Regions from separate parts of the Homo sapiens genome. Here all the other regions are linked to region 1. The links are contacts of gene promoters, found by promoter capture Hi-C in blood cells and fetal thymus (Javierre and others, 2016). All regions are on one chromosome and are shown on one strand. The core of a region is centred on a gene start or on the middle of the fragment in contact, and the rest is flanking DNA. Distances in the headings are between cores, read along the strand shown. Region 1 holds the start of SNRPE (small nuclear ribonucleoprotein polypeptide E). Region 2 overlaps MDM4 (MDM4 regulator of p53). Region 3 has its middle 3.0 kb from the start of PPP1R15B. Region 4 has its middle 8.3 kb from the start of LINC00628.

Region 1 (3,568 bases), core at 347-2,846:
CCCCCAAAAAATTGAAGTATACAAAACCTAACCATTTTGGTCAAACGACAAGAGAAATATGGCTCCTAAAAAAATTGTAATGAATGTAAGTCAAAAGTTTTAACTAATTAGCCCATATCTAAGAATTATTCACCAATAATAATAACCTCAAAAAGAATTTTCATTTAATAAGTTCTATATTGGAACTGTATAAGCTAATAATTTTCCTGTGATTTTGGGACTCAATATTTCTTACTGCTTCTGGTCTCAATCTATTAAGAGTGAAAGTTTTTGACAGCATAGCACAAAGCAGTAATTTCTAATGACCAAGGGCTTATCTCCTGCAGCAAAATCCAGTTCCAAAACAAAGCCTTCTCATGTCACACACCTAACAACTAGGACAGGAGCCCTCAATTCAGGTGGTTAAGAATTATTATCACCTGAAATTAATGTTTTTCAGTTGTGTTATCACACTATAAAATTTAAGTTGCTAAAATTTCCCTCAAAGGAAAGCAGCTGCCACTAAACTCCTCTGAAGCTACCCCTTCTCTCTTCCTTTTTTCGTCTTTAAGTTTTCCCACAGGTATTAAACACACCACCTCTTGACATGGTTTAAGTTGGCTGGGTTTTTCTTCCAATGTTTCATCCTAAAGGGGAGAGGTTCCAATGTTCTAGCCATAATCACTACTAACAAAACTACTGATGCCCAAATACCATGGTCAAGTCTGCTAATAATACTTTTTGGAATTAAAAAGTATTTTTGATCTTGCAAAGTAATGGATACAATTCTTTGCATGTTGGGAAGTGGCATGGATACACACCACTTCATCACATTAGTGCTTTCTAAGTACTCCTTCCCCTCAATTACCCTCCAATCTCCAGTTACATCTATTTTTAAATTCTAGAACACAGCGATCGCTCAGGTTAACACAAAAAACTAAATCAGTTCACCTCTTATTTAAAAAGTAGTTACGAAACAAGCAACTTACGTACATTTTGTAAGTATCTGAAGATGAGGTTCTGCACCACAGTGGCTAAGGAAAAAATACAAAAGCAGCATAGACTCTGCTTCCTGAAACAACCGGACGACGCTATTCCCGTCTCACCTTTGTTTACTAAACGCGAGGTCTGGTGCTTACGCAAACAACAAGTGCCCAGCTGGGCATTCGTTACGGGTCTTCTAAAGACTAAAGAACATCCATTCCACTTTCATCCCCCTGGAGTTTCCCAAAACCGTTAACTCCCGTTTTCACTCCGCACCTGAAGTTCTCTTCCCTCCTTTTGCCGCGTCCATTCCTGCATTCCCCACGGCAGGGGTCCCCCCAAGACCACCTCCCCACCATCACGGTTCAACTACCCGCGCTTTCTTCCAGTCTTGGTAGCCCCGGGGGCTCATGGGATGTGGATCCGTACTCCACTATCCCAGGCCTGCCCTCAGCCTGCGCCTTCGCACCCCGTATTCTGACCCGAACCTCCTAGTCCTGACATCCTGCGTAGGATACGATGGGCTGCACCATAACCTTCTGCACTTTCTGACCCTGGCCACGGTACGCCATGGTGGAATTTCACAAAGAGCACACCCGCACGCTGCCTCTGAGAGCAACTTCCGGAATAAAGAACCGGAAGCGGAAGTGTGAAGGTCACGCGGCGGCATGGGCGGCTCCTGGGAAATGCCCCTCTAGCCATGAAGTCACGTTTCTTCGCTGCATGGCCTCCGAGGGAGGCCAAACTGAGGCGTCTGCGCTGTGGAAGGTGGGCCGGTCCTACAGCGCCACCTGGAGGGAGGCGGGAGGAGGTGCCTTCGGTTGTATAGTGGCCGTGGTAGGAGGAGTGCCGTCCTGTCTCCAATTTCTTTTCTTTTTTTTTTTTTGAGGCGAAGTCTCGCTCTGTCGCCCAGGCTGGAGTGCAGTGGCGCGATTTCAGCTCACTGCAACCTCAGCCTCCAGGGTTCAAGCGATTCTCCTGCCTCAGCCTCCCGAGTAGCTGGGACTACAGGCGCCTGCCACCACGTCCGACTAATTTTTTGTGTTTTTAGTAGAGACGGGGTTTCACCATGTTGGCCAGGATGGTCTCGATCTCCTGACCTCATGATCCGCCCGCCTCGGCCTCCCAAAGTGCTGGGATTACAGGCGTAAGCCACCGCGCCCGGCCTGTATCTCCATTTTCTGAGTTAGCTTGAAAAGCCAAAATCGTCCCAGTGTGTATCTCTATGTGTAAAATGAGTTAATTTCGTGCCTTTCCTAAAGCCTATTTTGCTGGAGTTTAGGCTTGATAGCAGCGTTGTGGTGGAAAGGGTAGGGCGGCAAGGAGCCCAAACTTCAGGCCTCCCACCTCTGGCAGTCGGCCAGAGGCGGTCTGCATTCCAAAGCCAGACGCCTGGTTCCCTCCAGTTACGGATTCAATTCTCATCCATTTCGTGGAGAGTTACTGTTCAGGTGGCAACTGAGGGTGGCGATTTACCAGGAAGACGCTGAAATCCACATGCTGGGCGCAAATCCAGCTCTTTTAGAGTTGGTGACCAAGGATAAATTACTCAGCCTCGCCATGTCTTGGCTTAGTTTCCAAAACGGAGATTATAGTAAAGATTAACTTTACTCAGGGGCTTAAAGATTCAATGAAATAATTGTCTATGTGTGCACACAGTTAGGCGTCAGCCAGTGTCAGAACATGTCCTTCCCTGGATAACACAGCTACTAAGTGGAGCAGCTGGAATTTGTAGGTGTGCCTGACCCCAAAGTCCACCTACCTTTCCATTGTGTCATGGCTTGTGGCCTGGCAGAGATTTCACTTAATTGGCATACACATGTTATAGAGGAGGAAACTGAAGTTTAGACTTTTGAAAGGACTTGCCTAAGGGAACACGGATTAGGGCAAATGGCAGAATCAAAATTAGCTTTTCTGAGGGCTTCTGTTTAATGGGGATAATAGTAATAACGACTTCAGAAAGGGGTTGAGTTGAAAGTGATTTTTAAACTACACAAAGCGGCCAGGCTCACGCCTGTAATCCCAGCATTTTGGGAGGCCGAGGCAGGTGGATCAACTGAGGTCAGGAGTTCGAGACCAGCCTGGGCAACATGGTGAAACCTTGTCTCTACTAAAAATACAAAAATTAGCCATGCATGGTAGCACATGCCTGTAATCCCAGCTACTTGGGAGACTGAGACAGGAGAATCACTTGAACCCAGGAGGCAGAGGTTGCAGTGAGCCGAGATCATGCCACTGCACTCCAGCCTTGGTGACGGAGCGAGACTCCGTCTCAAAAAAATAAATAAGAATAAATAAATAAATAAACTACACAAAGCTGGCAAATGCATGGGATAACTATTTCCTTTAAAAAATTTCAGCCAGGGCTGGGCACAGTGGCTCATGCCTGTAAATCCCAGCACTTTGGGAGGCTGAGGCAGGCAGATCACAAGGTCAGGAGTTTGAGACCAGCCTGGCCAATATGGTGAAACCCCGTCTCTATTAAAAATACAAAAATTAGCTGGGCGTAGTGGTAGGCGCCTGTAGTCCCATCTACTCAGGAGGCTGAGGCAGGAGAATTGCTTGAATCTGGGAGGCAGAGGTTGCAGTGAGCCGAGATCGCGCC
Region 2 (3,568 bases), core at 346-2,845, 680 kb before region 1:
AAACAATGGCAGTACCCACATCCTAACAGAAAAAAAACAAACATGAGTTTCTGTATTCAGAGGTTTATCAGAGATGTTGAAACAACACAAATGAACCCAAAACTCAATGTCGTCACACTACATCGCCAAAGAACATCTTGCCTTTATTCAGTGGACATGTATTCATTCAACATATATCTACTTGACACCTACTGTGGATAAACTAATGGATGGATATAATGGTGTCAGGCATGGACTTTTCTCTTTTAACACTAAATCAGGTATAACACCTAAGAAACAGTACTGAAGAGTTTAAAAGGTAAGGACTTGTAGTTGCTCAAGTAAATAGAATCTATTCCCTAAATTCCCTTCTACAGGTGACACTCTAAGAAGCTACAAAACATTCCATTAGTTCTGACATATTCTTTCCCTTAAAATGGTCAAGGATGTTTATTAAAGAAATATGAGAAATACTGATGGTCACCCAAACCTTTTGTCCTGACACTTTCTGAACTCCATATAGAACTAACCTTCTGCATTCATCTATGAATATTTCATGACATGCTTTTCTACAACATTCATGAGAGACAATTTATTATTTTGCACACTATTAAATACTCATCCATTTATTAAACAAATACTCACTGAATACCTATTATGTGCCACATACTGTTCTAGGTACCAGGTAATGGAAAAAGTAGTGAATAATACAAAAGCCCTGGCCTTACATTTCAGTGGTAAACAGACAACACATACATAAAATATAGCAATATTTTTACAAAGTGAGAAGTACTATGGAGAATAAAATAGGATAAAAGAGAAGAGTGGCTAGAGAGGAGGCTATTTTAACTAGGGATGGGTTTGGCAGGGCCACCACCTATAGCTACACAGCTCCAAAACAAAAAGCGAATGGATCCTACTGGAACTGTGTAACATAATAGCCTTTGTGGCCAGGGATGACCTCTTTGAAGAAATTACATTTGAGGTGAGTCCTAAATCATGAGAAGGCAAAGAAAGAATGTGGGGGAACAGTGTTCCAGAAAGAGTAAAGAACAAACTTAAGGTGCCTGAGGAAGGCAGCAATTTTGGGCTACAGTGTCAGAAAGGAGCCTAGTATATCCAAAACGCATGTAGTGAACAAAGAAGAATGACAGGAAGTGAGGAAGGAGGGGGCTGAATCAGTTATTACTATAGTAAAACAGGCGCACGCCACCACGCCTGGCTAATTTTTAATTTTTTGTAAAAATGGTGTCTATGTTGCCTAGGCTGGTCTCAAACTCCTGGGCTCAAGCAATCCTCCTGTCTCGGCCTCCCAGTGTTATAGGCTGGGACTCCCAGAGATTACAGGCATGAGCCACTACGCACAGCCAAAGGCTCCATTTTGAAATTGTTCAATGTCAAATCCTCTAAGTAGAGTTGTTAGTTAAATAGGCATCTGGAAACTGAAGTTGGGCATTTAGGGAAGAGGTAAGGACTAGAGATACAGATTTGGGTATCACATGCATACAGATGGTATTTAACGCCATAGGAGTAAATAAGAATTCTTAGAGAATATAATGTGTGGTCAAGAGTAACCAAGAATGTTACCCTTTCAAAAGAAAAAAAACCACTTCCCTTCAAATGTGAAATTTACCTGATTTGTCTGTAAATCAGTTGAGCCATTACTTCTAGGTGTATAGTTGCTTCTCAAGTTTCCTAAAAACCACCAAGGCAGGCCAGCTACATCCCACTCCTCAAATCCAAGGTCCAGCCTAGATGTTTCATCTTGGGCTAAATTTTCAATTAAGTCTTCATCTATAGAAGTCAAATGAAAAGAATGATAACTATGCACAATACGTAATAACTAAGACTATCTTTAGAATACTTAAAACTTCTTTATAAAATAGGTAAAAAGAAATTCCTGTTCTAAGAAAGAAAGAACCAGAAATCAAGTATCTGTCTTAGTGGCAGAGCTCAAATCTCCTCCCTTGTTTAGACTTCATTAGCAAGTAATGACACTACAAACAGATCATCGTTTATCAAGTTTAAACTCTAAAAGCATTGTCTTCTATGAGAAGACAGGAAAAAAAAAAGACTCTAAAAGCATCTGAACAATGACCTTGTGCTAAAAGAATTTCTAAATGGGCATTTACTGGTATTTTAAACACTCCTACCATGTATAAACTATAGAATTACTTGCTCTAGTACATAGTGCCTGATAATAGTTTGATTAACAGCATTGCAAATGATGGTAACATAGTGGTCTAACCCTTAAGATCAAAGCAAGGCAATACAAACCATAATAGGTGATCACAAGGTTGTCCAGGCAATCTCACTGGTACCACATATTCTGGGTCAATTCTCAATAATTCGTATGTTTTAGTAGGTAACAACCACTATAAAACACTAAACTCTAGGTTGTCCAAATACATACATATGCCCTCGCTGGATCAATGGGCTCTTAGAGTTAAGTATCTAGACATACCACAAATACTAAGACCCCACGTTATTTCAAGTAAAAGATCTCACATTGTACATTTGAATGACACTGAGGGCAGCTAATTAACATAAGTCTGTTGTTATCACATGATACTCTTTTCTTTCCCATACTCCAGTCTTTTGTTGGGCTCTACTGCTCCTTTCTTACTTTCTCATTCTCTTCTACCTCCTCCCAATACATTAGGCCTGCCCATAGCAACCATGGGGTTAACGTGTGCTGAAGTACATATGGTGAAAGAATTTCTGCAATACATGGGTCCTTGCCAGAACATAAGGTTACCCTATTTACTTATAAATTATGTCAATATTGCTGACTAAAAGGCTTATCTGTGGCCAGGGAAACTTCAATTATGTTTCCACTTATTCATTATTGAAACTATCAGAAGCCAAATTCTTGAAATGGTGCCATATTAAAGTTATTCTTCCCTACTCGAGCTCTACAACTTATGAAGGAAATGAAAATAGGTCATTCTTTCCACAAATAAAAATTCTGTCCCTTCTACCTATAGGTCTTCCTGAAAATACTATTATTTATTCCCAAATTTTCATCACAAACTACATATCCCCCCTTGAGTTGGCTATTCTTAAATACCTGCCCTTGCCCCCAACTTTTTTTTGAGACAGGGCACCACTTTGTTGCCCAGGCTGGAGTGCAGTGACATGATATTGATTCACTGCAACCTCCGCTCACTGCAATCTCCACCTCTTGGGCTCAAGTGATCCTTCCATCTCAGCCTCCTGAGTAGCTGGGACGACTGGTGCGCACCATCATGCCCAGCTAATTTTCTACTGGGCTGATTTTTTGTAGAGACGAGGTCTCGCTATGTTACCCAAGCTGGTCTCGAACTCTTGAGCTCAAGTAATGCCCCTGCCTCAGCCTCCCAAAGTGCTGGGATTACAGGCACGAGCTACCATGCCCAGCCTTGATTTTCTAACAGTGCCCAGCCATGTTCTTATATATCTTAAAATTGCCTTTTGAGTACAAAATAAGCAAGGATTTGCATTAAGGAATAAAATTACACATTTAATATCATATAGACTGGAATAGTTACAAAGTAACTAGGTAGACCAAAATTCAGTTTATGCTCAAATGCAATGTAAAGAAAACAAT
Region 3 (3,568 bases), core at 678-3,177, 550 kb before region 1:
TGTGGTGGCATGTTCTCAGCTCACTGCAGCCTCAACCTCCTGGGCTCAAGTGATCCTCCCACCTCAACCTCCTGAGTGGCTGGGAACACAGATGCACACCACCACACCTGGCAAATTTTTTGTAGAGATGGGGTTTTGCCATATGTTGCTCAGGCTGGTCTTGAACTCTTGGGCTCAAGCAATTGACCCACCTCCCAAGTGCTAGGATTACAGGCATGAGCCACCATGCCTAGCCCAAATACTTTATGATTGCATTTTCCCTCTTTAGAACTTCTAACATAAGGAAGAATAAAAATTATATATCCAATGACTACATGGGGAAGGGGAGTTCCATTCAAGAAAGTTTTAAGAAATTGTTTTCAGGGGTGTGTGGTGTCAGTCAGTGACAAAGTTGAGAGTGGAATGCAAGAGGCTTGGTCTTAAGGAAGACGACATTATTTTAAAGTATTATTACTCTTCCATTCATTCAACAAACATTTATTGGGTACCTATTATGTACCAGTCAACATACTACCTCAGTGGTTCTTAAACTTTTTGGCCTCAGGAAAAAGTTTATACTCTTAAAAAGTATTGAGGGCCCCAGCCAGGTGTGCTGGCTCATGTCTGTAATCCCTGCACTTTGGGAGGCTGAGGCAGGCAAATTGCTTGAGCTCAGGAGTTTGAGACCAGCCTGGGCCACATGGCAAAACCTCATCTCTACTAAAAAGAAAAAAAACCCCAACTTGGGCAACCTGGTGAAACAGTCTCCACTAAAAAAATATAAAAATTGGCCGGGCATGGTGGTGGGTGCCTGTAATCCCAGCTACTTGGGAGGCTGAGGCAGAAGAATCGCTTGAACCTGGGAGGTGGAGGTTGCAGTGAGCTGAGATTACACCACTGCACTCCAGCATAGGCAACAGAGCAAGACTCCATCTCAAAAATGTAATAATAAAATGAAAAAAAAAAAACAACAGGTGTGGTGGTACACACCTGCTATGCCAACAACTTGGGAGGCTGAGGTGGGAGGACTGCTTAAGCCTGGGAGATCAAGGGTGCAGTGAGCCGTGACTGCACCACTGCACTCCAGCCTGGGCAATACAGCAAGATCCTGTCTCAAAAAAAAATTACTAAGGACCCCAAATAACTATCTTTATACCTTTATGTGGTTTATAGCTATCAATATTTCCTATTTATGAATTCAAGACCGAGGAACTGAAAAATGTTCATTTAGGCTGGGTGTGGTGGTGTGCACCTGTCGTTCCAGCTACTTGGGAGGCTGAAGCAGGAGGATTGCTTGAGCCCAGGAGTTCAAGGCCATAGTGTGCTGTGATTGCCCCTGTGAATACGCACTGCACTCCAGCCTGGGCAACATATGAAACTCTGTCTTTAATGAAAAATACAATAAAATTTTAAAATTCATTTAAAAATAACCAATTACATGTTAATTTTTTTTTTTTTTTTGAGGCAGGATCTCACTCTGTTGCCCAGGATGGAGTGCAGTGGCACAATCTTGGCTCACTGCAACCTCTGCCTCCCAGGCTTGAGCAATCCTCCCACCTCAGCCTCCTGAGTAGCTGGGACCACAGGCGTGCACCGTCATGCCTGGCTAATTTTTGTATGTTTTGTAGAGACAGGGTTTTGCCATGTTGCCCAGGCTGGTAATGTTCAATTATTTTTCAAAACATAAAAAGCTTAGTGAGAAAAGTGGCATTGTCTTACATTTTTTCCAAATGTCTTTAGTATCTGGCTTAATATAAAACAGCTAGAATCTCGTATCTATCTGCTTTTGCATTCATTCTGTTGACAGTTCACACACCATGTATCTTCCAGAAGACTTCACTGTACATACATGAGAAAATGAGAGTTAAAAAAGCTGAGAATTATTATGGAAATATTTTTGGCCTTAAGGACCCTCTGAAAGGGTTTCAAAGGAGGATCCCCAGGGGTGCCCAGACCATACTTTGGGAACCACTTTTCTAGATAGTTGGATACAGCCCTCAAGGAATTCAGGGACCAGCAAGAGAGAATACTTACAGGTATATGTAATGCAATGTGTTAAGTGCTCTAATAGAGCGGAATAATATAAGTACTGTGAGGGATCCATTAATTCTGGCTGGAAAGGTCAATGAAGGCTTCAAGGAGAAGCTGACATTTGAATTGGATCTTGAAGGATGAGTAGGTATGTAACAGGAAAGGTGAAGCTTTTCTTGGCTGAGAAACAGCATGAGTAAAGGCAGGAAGCAAGGAGTACAGGTAAGTCCAATGTTCCTAGAATATAACATGCATGAAGACAAGTGACAGAGGAGGCTGGAAGAGTACAGTGGGAGGGCAGGCTGCATAGAGCCTTTATTCTGCAGGCAATGAGGAAACAACTGAAGACTGTAAAGCAGAACCACACAAGAATATTAGCTAATCTTTGTGCTCCTACTCTGTCTAGGCTAGGCACTGAGAAAACTTAGTTTTCTTACCAATCCATTGAAAGAGGAATTACTAGCCTCACTTTACAAGAAACAGGCTTCTGGTAACAAATTTGCCTACTTGGATCTGTATTATGAAACTGACCTCTATTATTAATACATTTTTCTGAAGTTCATAGGATTGAGATTTTCCAGAGGTATGGATAATAATACAGGATAAACAACAGAAACTGAGGTCCTCTTGGCTTCCTAGAAAGAAGTGGTTGTGCCGAACGTGGTGGCTCACGCCTGTAATCCCAGCACTTTGGGAGGCTGAGGCGGGCAGATCACAAGGTCAGGAAATTGAGACCATCCTGGCTAACATGGTGAAACTCCGTCTCTACTAAAAATACAAAAATTAGCCGGGCGTGGTGGCATGTGCCTGTAGTCCTAGCTACTAGGGAGGCTGAGGCAGGATAATAGTTTGAACCCAGGAAGGCGGAGGTTGCAGTGAGCAGAGATCACACCACTGCACTATATCCTGGGCAACAGAGCGAGACTCGTCTCAAAAAAGAAAAAAAGAAGTGGTTGTTCCTTGAACAGGCCCAGTAAGGCAGGAGGAGCTGCTGGTCTCCTCCCAGCTCCCTAAAGATTTTTCTGCTGTCCCTAGTGCTCATAACTGCCACCCTCCCTCTGTAATTGGTACTTGACTTCAGGGGTATCTATTACAGAGTTTTAGCAGAAATAAAGAAATGAACTAAGACCAAACTCACAAGAGATAATCAAATACAGCAATTAAAATTACCAGCCATTTTTTTTTTCAAAGGATAGTGGTCCATGTTTCCTTTTTGGCTGTTGTATTCTGTGGTTCTGGTTGCTAAGGAAGTATTAATAAATATGAATTGAATATGTTGCCTGCTTGGAAGCATAAAAGAGAGTAAATAGTTCTGGGGACTGAGCTGCTTCTCTGTGAGTTTAGTTTGCCCCACACCAGACATGTATGTACGCAGCACTGCCCAACTTTTACATAAGATCTCAGGTTGATGGTCTACATAGTACTGAACAATAGGAGAACCCTGAAATATCTGTCAGGCTGGGCGCAGTGGCTCACGCCTGTAACCCCAGCACTTTAGGAGGCCGAGGCGGGCAGATCACTTGAGCTGAGTTTGAAACCAACCTGGGCAACACGACGA
Region 4 (3,568 bases), core at 628-3,127, 520 kb before region 1:
CAGATCACTTTAGGTCAGGAATTTGAGACCAGTCTGGCCAACATGGTGAAACCCCGTCTCTACTGAAAATACAAAAAAAATTAGCCAGGCATGGTAGTGAGTGCCTGCAGCCCCAGCTACTCAGGAGGCTGAGGTGAGAGGATCACTTGAACTTGGGAGGTGGAGGTTGCAGTGAGCCGAGATCATGCCACTGCACTCCAGCCTGGGTGATAGAGCGAGACTCCATCTCAAAAAAAAAAAAAAAAAATTGTTAATTGGTGCCGCAGGCAGCTGCCAGGGCTGTAAAGATGGATAAGATGGAGTTCCTGCCCCAAGGAGCACACAGTCCAATGGAGGAGACAGATGACTAAATCAAGGATTGCATTACAGTGTGATAAGTGCTACTATAGGGTTATTCATCAGGTGCCATGACACATGGAGGATGGACATATAAATCTCTCCGGGGTAGTGTCAGGAATGGCTTCCTGGAGGAGGTGGCACATGGGTAGACACTGAAAGGATGAGTAGGAATTACCTATGTGGAATGGGGATCAAGTCTCCTGGAATGCTCACAAAACGTATGTTTGCCCAACAGATAATTGCCAGCTGTCATGGAACACATTGCTCCCTTTAAACACAGGTGTCTCTCTCATCGTCTAATTATTCTCCTGGGCCTGGCACATGGATTGGAACTGTATGTACCTAACTGGAGCCCCAGTGGCAGATCCGGAGTAAGCTGGGAAAGCCAAATGGACTTCAGCATTTTTTCTTTCTTGAGACAGGGTCTCGCTCTGTTGCCCAGGCTGGAGTACACTGGCAGGATCATAGGTCACCGCAGCCTCGACCTCCCGGCTCAAAGTGATCCTCCTGACAGTGTTCTGAGTTGCTGGGACTACAGGCTCGTGCCACCAGATCCAGCTAATTAATTATTATTATTATTTGTAGTGACAGGGTCTTGCTATGTTGCCTAAGCTGGCTAACTTTGATATAGACCCTGAGATAGCAGAACTGTGGGCTCCAGCAATACTGCTTTTGGTATGCCAGTATGAAATGCTTGCAGTCTGCATTCTGTACACATAACACATTCCCTTCTCTCTCCATTTTTCTTCCTTTTTCCTTTTCCATTTCTGGTGCAAGTTAGGGGGAATGGAATGGAGGGACATAAACGCTGTTGGTTTCTGAGTATTTCTAAGGTCTCCCTGTGATTCTACTTAGTCATGGCAGACTTCTTGGAGGAGGTGCTGGGAAAGAAAGGTAAGGACTAGCTCGACTAATCAGGCTGGCATCTGAGCTAGGAGAGGCTCCCCGGGCCCCTCGCTGCTCACAGCCCCGCCACGCTTCCGTGCCTTTGACCTTTGTTCCTCTCCTAACCTCCCACCAAGTAGAACCAGGTTTAATCACTTCCCCTTTTCCGTTCAGTGGCTGGACATGTCCACCAGGTTCCTGATTCAAAGCTCTTTTAGTCAAACTGGTTCTCTGCGCGGTGCGCCTGGACTGGGGGACTTGGCGCTGCCGGCGAGTTCTCGGGGCTGTGAATTACCTTCCGAGGCGGCGGCGCGGCTCCGCCCCCGGCCCCGCCGGTGGTTCAAGTGCAAGATCGGAGCTGGGAGCGGAGAGGCAACACCCCTGCTCGCACTGCAACCTGCTCCCTTCGGGGAGGGATCCTCCCCGCTCCAGCTTCTGCTCTCCGGGCTCCGCCAGGCTGGAGGGCAGCAGAGCCAGGAGGAACGGAGACCCAGCGCTGCCCGTTAACAGTCCCGGCAGGAGAGGCATCGTAATTACTCACCGCGCTAATTGCCCGTCATTAAAGTTCAGGAAACGGTCCGAAGAGGAGCTCCCGAGTCGACGAGGAGGCAGGTGGTGTCTGGGGCTCCCGGCCGGCCAGGGTTAAGCGCTTGCCTGCTCCCTGCCGCCCGGCTTGAGGCCAGCGCGTCTTCAGTGGGGAGGCCAGCCACACTGCCAGGGACCCGGGAGCGACGCCGCCAGCCCGGCCGGACCCCCTCCCCCACCACGGCCTCTGGAAGGGGGCAGCAAGTGGGGGTTCCCGGGTACCAAGCCCCCTGCCCAGCCGGCGCCTGGGGGCGCAGAGAGCGAGAGGGGCTGCAGGGACACCGAGATGGCCGATGAGATTGACTGGCTGGACCTGCCCGGCCGGTGGGCCTACGGAGTTGACGGCGGTGGGAGAATCTTCTTCATCAAGTATGTTGGTCTCGCTCTTCTTTTTATTTCATTTTTTTCCATTAAGTTGCCCAACTTGAAAAGTGGCGGGGCTGGGGGCAGGCCGGAGAAGGTGGGTGAAGCGGTGGCTACAAGGGCGGGCATGACTAATAAGTTTATCACCATGCCTGTTTGAATGTGTCTCCCGCCTTTTCCTCAATGGGTCAAAGTCCAGCAAAGGCTTGGCATTCCCTCAGCTTGGAAAGGCTGGGCAGGGCAGGGGAGTGCTGCCCTTTCTCCCTCTCCCTGGTCACATGCGAGGCCTCCAGGAGGATGACTAGACCAATGCCCAGCCTGGAGTTTTTTCAGCTCCTTCCCTGAAAGGGCCAGAGGTAGGTCTTTCATTTTCCCCGAGACTTTCCTATGGGAAGACTTGGGCTAAGTGACAACATACCAGGAGATCCTGCCTCTACCACTCAGTTCCTGGCAACCCTCGCCCCAGACTCAGCGTGCCCAGGACAGCAGTTCTCCTCTCCTGTCCTGCTTCTTTATGGGGCTGTGGTCAAGAGGGAGGGGGACGATGCCCACTGTATGTTTGGCATTCTTGAGAGAGAGCGCGCCTTTGCTACTCTCAGTAATATATTAGCACTGTTATATTAATTTCATAAGCCAAAGTGGCTCTGGCATAATCTCATTATAACAAAGTGGCCCTGCTGGCTGTCTTTTGGCTCGCTTCTACTATAGTCATCTTTTGCCAGGATAGACATCTTCCAGAAATATAGCAAGTCTAGAAGCACAGCGTCTTGGACTGTTACCCACACTTGACGAGCTTTTCCTTCCTCAAGATAGCCACTTAAAAACATCGGAGCTACAAGGAATCTTAGAAACAACCCCTTCATTTGTCAAATGGGGAACTGAGGTCCAGAGATATTGAAGTACCGGTCTAAGAGAAAACCACGTGTTAATCAGAGCTGGGACTCAGCCCCGCATCTGCTGACTTAGTGCACTGCTTCCCCAGGTACCAAACTGCCTTTGCAGGGGCTCAGGCAGGCAGTAGTTTCTCTTTGGTGTTTCTAAGTTTCCACATTTGCTTTAGGCCTTTGTTCTGTAATTATCACCACCATGATCATAATTGATGTTGTAATTATATTATCTTAGAAATTAACTCCATTAAAGTTCTTGACCCTAAGTCAGATTCTTAAATAACAGAACCTCTGCAATATTAAAACTGCAGTGGCTAGAGACATTAGAGTTTATAAGAATCACCCAAGGAACTTATTAAGAAGGTGGATTCCTGAGCCCTACCTCAGGAGATTCCTATTCAGAGGATCTGGGGTAGGGTCTTAGAATGTGAATTTCCATGAGCCCCTCAGGTATACTGATGAAGTGGTTCATTCTCTTCTTTCTTCCTGATCTCTTACTTGCCATCCAG

What was found. Contacts are between HindIII fragments. The CHiCAGO score rates a contact against its expected background, and 5 or more counts as called.
Region 2: a contact is called between a fragment that was not itself captured here and the fragment with the promoter of SNRPE in region 1, in 2 of 17 cell types (megakaryocytes and erythroblasts). The highest score is 6.4, in megakaryocytes.
Region 3: a contact is called between a fragment that was not itself captured here and the fragment with the promoter of SNRPE in region 1, in 1 of 17 cell types (non-activated CD4 T cells). The highest score is 6.6, in non-activated CD4 T cells.
Region 4: a fragment that was not itself captured here is called in contact with the fragment with the promoter of SNRPE in region 1 in 1 of 17 cell types (naive CD8 T cells); the score reaches 5.0 in naive CD8 T cells.

The regions. Positions count from the first base shown.
Region 1 is chr1:203,859,627-203,863,194 of GRCh38, reverse strand. It overlaps SNRPE (small nuclear ribonucleoprotein polypeptide E), which reads right to left and starts at 1,596. Exons shown (of 5, transcript NM_003094.4): 1 at 1,482-1,596; 2 at 973-999. The coding sequence starts at 1,535. RefSeq lists enhancers at 491-1,066, 1,452-1,711, 1,520-1,814. The HindIII fragment of the contact is 9,598 bases long and covers 1-3,568 here.
Region 2 is chr1:204,540,989-204,544,556 of GRCh38, reverse strand. MDM4 (MDM4 regulator of p53) reads right to left here. Exons shown (of 11, transcript NM_002393.5): 8 at 1,613-1,773; 9 at 1-22. Among named protein-coding and RNA genes, the nearest start is that of LRRN2-AS1, 21 kb to the left of the region's middle. The HindIII fragment of the contact is 4,009 bases long and covers 1-3,568 here.
Region 3 is chr1:204,413,035-204,416,602 of GRCh38, reverse strand. No RefSeq gene overlaps it. Among named protein-coding and RNA genes, the nearest start is that of PPP1R15B, 3.0 kb to the right of the region's middle. The HindIII fragment of the contact is 510 bases long and covers 1,673-2,182 here.
Region 4 is chr1:204,376,193-204,379,760 of GRCh38, reverse strand. It overlaps a transcript of PLEKHA6 not described here. Among named protein-coding and RNA genes, the nearest start is that of LINC00628, 8.3 kb to the right of the region's middle. The HindIII fragment of the contact is 4,972 bases long and covers 1-3,568 here.